Regions from separate parts of the Homo sapiens genome. Here region 1 is linked to region 2. Evidence: promoter capture Hi-C in 16 types of primary human blood cells and fetal thymus (Javierre and others, 2016). All regions are on one chromosome and are shown on one strand. Each heading gives the region's core, a stretch centred on a gene start or on the middle of the fragment in contact. The rest is flanking DNA. Distances are from core to core; before and after follow the strand shown. Region 1 overlaps C1orf21 (chromosome 1 open reading frame 21). Region 2 holds the start of C1orf21 (chromosome 1 open reading frame 21).

Region 1 (2,700 bases), core at 92-2,591, 100 kb after region 2:
GTGTAGTGTGGGGAATAAAACTAGTACTTGCCTGCCTTCATAGGGCTGTTGTGAGACTAAAATGTATTAATATTTGTAAATCTTAGCATAGTACTTGGCACATGATAAGCACTGAGTTAGTATGCTCATCATCATATTAGCAGCCTGCAGTTGCGCAGACCTCTGACCTATGCAGTTTGCATTTCTGAAAATGGTTGCTTGGTTTCCTCTGATTACGCTGGAGGAGAATGCGTCATCAGTTTATTTGTAGATGTATAATTCTCTAAACTTAAAAGATGATCAATTGTCCATGTAATACTTATCTCTTTTAGATTTTAAGATATGTGTGTTCCTATGGTTTGTTCTTTCTCTGGTTTGACCTAGACCAGTTTCTGTACTGTGTAAGATGTATACGTGAATATTTGTCTTTTAAATGAAAAGACCAAAGGACATGCATGATTCAGGAATGATGAATATAATATTATGCCTCATTTCTTTCAAAGTGTAGTTTAAAAGAAATCCCACCATAGAGGTTAACAAATACATTTTTTGCTTATCAACCATAAATCTATACATGAGTGTGTGTGTCTTGTTTATCATGCAGAGTGAGATGTTGGTAGAAGTAAGGAGTAAAGCACCATGAGAGGGCTAGAGGCAGCAGACACAGATGATGCCCCAGTGATTGTAATGGGATAAATGCATCCATAAGCAGCTGAAATAAAAAGATATACCAATTAATTGGGTACCATTTCAATTCACATTTTATTCTTTGAAGATATTCTGTTATTTGTGATTATAATATTAAAAATGAAATCCCCCAATTTATCTCTTCATATTAGAATTTTTCAGATTAATCTAAAAATTTAACTGTCAAATAAGAAACTGTAGGCTGGGCACAGTGGCTCACGCCTATAATCCCAGCACTTTGGGAGGCCGAGGCGAGCAGGTTGCCTGAGCTCAGGAGTTCGCAACCAGCCTGGGCAACACGGTGAAATCCTGTCTCTACTAAAATACAAAAAATTAGCCAGATGTGGCAGCGTGCGCCTGTAGTCCCAGCTACTTGGGAGGCTGAGGCGGGAGAATTGCTTGAACCCAGGAGGCGGAGGTTGCAGTGAGCCAAGATCATGCCACTGCACTCCAGCCTGGGCGACAGAGCGAGACTCTGTCTCAAGAAAAAGAAAAGAAAAGAAACTGTAAAAGTACTACAAAAAACGCAAGTGAGTATATTTATAATCTTAGGTTGCAAAATGTCTTTCTCTTAATGCTACAAAACCCAATACCAAAAGAAAAAGTTTGTGATAAACTGTGATTATATAAAATCTAAAATTTTGATTGGCAAAAAGTAAACTACCATAAACTAAGTCAAAAGACAAATGTCAAACTGAGAATAATATTTGCAATACAACTGAAGTTAATATGACTAATAGAAAAAGACCCTTCAAAATCTGTAAGGAAAGAACTAACATACCAATTGAAAAATGGACAAAGTTCATGGCCAGGCAATTCAAAAGAGAAAAAATATAAAGGGACAAAAGAGTACAGAAAGATATTCTACTTCTCAGTAATAAAATAAACCAAAAAAACAAACCAGCAAAAAAACCCAAAGCAAAACAAAACATTTTTTACCCTTCAGATTGGGCAGGAACAGGTGGCATCTGTCTCATGCTATAATGGAGAATGTCAACGCAGAACAATTTTTCTGGGGCACAAAATAGTAACATATATCAAAAATGTAAATGAGCATGCCCTTTGCCCCAGGAGACCCAGTGCTAGGAATTTATCTTAGGAACGTAATTGGACAAGTGTGCAAACCTGTGTGTTCAAGGGTCTTTCTCACTGATGAAACATGCATGGAATAGAGCCATTAGAGATCAAGGTATTCTATATTTATTGATATGGCAAAAGGTTTGTGACAGATTATTAAGTGAAATTAGTAAAGGGATTTTATGCAGCATATCTTGTTTGTAAATTTTACTTGTTTAAAATATATGTAAAATTCTGTGTGAGTGCATAAAAGAAGTGTTTGAAAGGCCATTCACCAAAACTTTTACGATGGCAGTCTCTTTATTGTGAAGTTTCAGGTGATTCTTAATTTCTTCTTTGTATTTTTCTGTGTGTCTTGAATCTTTTATGTTTAACATTTATCATTCACTACAACTGTTTATTTTGATAAATATAATTCAAATGTTTCCATCTCCAGAAGGCCTTTAGTTGTGTTTTCAGGGCAATGGTGAAATCTATCCCAGAGGAGAAAGCACTATCACTGGAAATAGCCCCAGGGCAACAGGGATCTGACTGATAGAAATGTTAGCCCAGGCATACAGATGGAGTCTGATGACTGGCACTTGTTGGTTTCATTTAAAACCTAGCATTTCACTTCATCCTAAGAAGCACTCGTTGACTACCTTGCATGAATTAGGTGCTGTGCTAGGCACGGAGGCTGTAAAGACGGGTTAAACCTGGTCCCTGCCTTTAAGGAACTGGTAAAGATGCAATAGATGGACATCTTGACAGAAAATGTCAGTACCATAGGGTGATAAGGCAAAAGGTCTCTTTTTCCAAGGAGTGGGGGAAGACTTGTAAAGAGGATGATTAAAGCCTCAGCTGAGTCTTAAAATATGAATACCAGCCAAAGGAACTAAGTGAGACAGAGCAGGAGGTTTAGGCTGAGAGTCAGTGAGAACAAAGGCTTAGAGGTACACCACACATACAATATAGCAG
Region 2 (2,816 bases), core at 257-2,756:
AAGAAGTATGAACCAGAATATGGATATTTTGTAAAAATGGAATGTAAGTTGAGGTTCCTGAACAATGTGATGTTAGGCAGGGTGCGGTGGAATTGGCCTGTAGTCCCAGCTACTTGGGAGGCTGAGATGGGGAAGATCCCTTGAGGAGGATCTCTTGGGTTCAGGAGTTCGAATCCAGCCTTGGCAGCAGACCCCATCCCTGAAAACAATAAAAATTAAAACAACAACAGTGGGATACTAGTCTTTTAATTTGAAAAAAAAAGGGGTGGAGAAAGGGAAAACCAGTTTTCAAAAAAGGCCAATTTCCTAGACATTAGTGGTTGATTACTAACTCATTTCATTAAACTAAATTATGAATTGGCTTTTCTCGTCAGTGTCACCACTCTGATGGCGTTCTTTTCCATTTTCCATCTTCACCCTGGCCGAATGTGGGAAATGATCTGGTTTGTGCATAATCCGCGAGGCCCAGGGAGGATCTTTTGCCCCTATTGTTTTCTTGGGTGTTCTCACTCTGGGGGCCTGACATTCCTCGCGTGTCTAAGGCAATGAGGGAGCAGTGAAGCGCGGGGAAGCCGCACAAAAGACATCCAAAGGCTATCAATGGAAAAAGATCAATTAGGTGCACACAAGAAACACCCAATATGCCAGGGAAGAGAAAAATACCCTTTTCCAGAGGGTGGGAAATTGATTGAGCTTCTGTGAGGGTCCACAAAGAACTGGACGGATGCAGTGGTGGATGGCGATCTCTCTGGACCACTCCGGACGCGCCCAGCAGACGCAGCCTACGCCTTTAGGTCCTAGGAGGCTGAGAAGGGTGGGGAGAGGGGGGCAGCACGATCTTGTGTCTTTCCTCCCCGTGCCGCCTCTACCGAATCGCGGATGCTTCATTAATCTTGCAGGCGCCGCAGCTCGGGTCAGTATGGAGGCGGATCGGTGGCAGAGCCCGGGCCTCTGGGCTGCGCCCGCCCGTTCAGCCTGGCCCGGGAGGGGAGCGGCCGCGCGGTGGGCCAAAGACGCCCGGCCTTCCCTCCGTCTGCTTCCAGCAGGCACAGCCGGGAGGCTGGGCTCAGGGGCTGACCCGAATCTCCCCTAGAGCTGGGCCCACCCGGCTGCCCCCCGAGCAGCCTCGCCGCTCCCACGCCACCGCCCAAGTGACAGGCCCGGGAAGGCCGGACGGGACGCAGTCTTCCCGCCGGGGTCTTCCCTCCGGCTGGCCGGCCGCTGCAGGGCGCGCGCGCACACACGTACACACACACACACACCTGCCCACACACACACACACACACACACACACACACTGCCGCCTCCTTCCCGCCCCGCAGCCCTAGCAGCCCCCAACCCGCTCCCCAGCGCGCTGCGCCCCGGCGGCCTCCGCAGGCCCCGCCCCGGGGAGGAGAGCCAGGCGCGCGCGGGAGCTAGGCTCGGGGAGGGGCCGGCGGTGGGGGAGTGTCTGCTGCCCCCGCCCCTCGAGTGAGTGACTGAGCGAGGAGCTCCCCTCCCTCGCTCGCTCCTCGCAAGCTCCCGCTCGCTCCCTGCCCACTCCCGGGGGGACGTTCCGTGCCGCGGCCGCCGCGGCCGCTGCTTCTTTCACACTTTAGTTGGGAGCTGCGCGCCGCGCTCAGTTACTGGAGAGCTGGCCGCGCGCCGCCGCCTCCCGCACGCTTGCACGCGGGCCCGGCTTCGGGGTTTTGGGTTCTTACTCCAAGCGGCGGGGAGGAGGGGGAGCCCCGGACACACTGTGGGGAGGAGGAGGAAGAAGAGGAGGAGGGAGGAAGAAAAAAGACGAGGAGGACAGGGGCGGGGGGCGGGAGGCTTGCCACCTTCAGCCCCCCCGCGAACGCCCAAGGTAAGTGTGAGCCATTGCCTGCTCTGGGGCGGGGGGAGCTGGCGGTGCAGCCCGCCCCGGCTCGGCTACCCGGGCATCCCCGGGTGGGCAGGGAGGGAGGCCTGCGGGGTGTCTGCCGCACGGAAGGGATGGGAGCCGCGGTCGTGGCGCTGCCTGCGCGGGGCCCGGGCCGGGGCTGCTGCTGGTGCGGGGCTGGCGGGGTTGCTGCCAGGGACGGAAGCTGGGGTGGGGGAGCCGCGAGGGGCGTCTGCCGGCCTGGGCGGAGGGGCTGGGATGTGGTCGGGGCTGCTGACGACTTTCGTCACATCGAGGCCTGGGTGGCTGGTGTTAGACACCCCTCCCTTCCCACCCGCACCCTGCCGCCCTCAGCCTTCCTGCTCTCCTCTAGCTTTGCATGTAGCCACCGTACTTTGCAAGCCAGAGCTTGAAAGGAAAAACACAATTTAGGATCCTTTGCTAAGTATCCAAGTCCCTTCTCTCGCTCCGACTGATTGATGTGTTTGTGTGGGTGGTTTGACCCCCGGGATTTCTGAAGTTTTGACCTTTTTGGGGTGGCTCGTTTCGTTGCATCTGTTTGCCCACCTCGGTGTATTTATTATTCGTGCCCATGCGAGGCAGCCAGAGGGTGCTTGGTTATTGTACACGAAACAGATTTCACTCTCCTCTGCAGGCAGTTCGCGAAGTGCCGCCGCCGCGGCTGCCTTTGGTCTGCTGGTTAATGTCCTTTCCCTATCATCCACCCTGCTCCCTCCCTCTACGGAGGGTTAGTTTTTGTTTTTGTTTTTGTTTTTTCCTTTCCACTTACTGTTTGTGTGAGAGAAGTCCTGGGCTTAAGGGCTCTCAGCACTCGTTCATTTCTCTTCTAAAGCTCTGAATGGCTCAGGCATGTCGGTAAAATTTGGGGTGGTCCTCTTTGCTCCAAGAGTTGCATGGCCAAAGATAAAAATATGCACACATAAACACGCATTAA

The links. The method cuts DNA at HindIII sites, captures the fragments that hold promoters and counts their contacts. A CHiCAGO score of 5 or more calls a contact.
Region 1: a contact is called between a fragment that was not itself captured here and the fragment with the promoter of C1orf21 in region 2, in 2 of 17 cell types (megakaryocytes and M1 macrophages). The highest score is 5.4, in megakaryocytes.

The regions. Positions count from the first base shown.
Region 1 is chr1:184,487,817-184,490,516 of GRCh38, forward strand. The region is part of intron 2 of C1orf21 (chromosome 1 open reading frame 21); the gene reads left to right. Among named protein-coding and RNA genes, the nearest start is that of C1orf21, 100 kb to the left of the region's middle. The HindIII fragment of the contact is 6,704 bases long and covers 1-2,700 here.
Region 2 is chr1:184,385,523-184,388,338 of GRCh38, forward strand. It overlaps C1orf21 (chromosome 1 open reading frame 21), which reads left to right and starts at 1,507. Exons shown (of 6, transcript NM_030806.4): 1 at 1,507-1,846. C1orf21-DT (C1orf21 divergent transcript) reads right to left here and starts at 1,182. Exons shown (of 1, transcript NR_172919.1): 1 at 231-1,182. RefSeq lists silencers at 993-1,052, 1,143-1,252, 1,283-1,542. The HindIII fragment of the contact is 4,352 bases long and covers 1-2,816 here.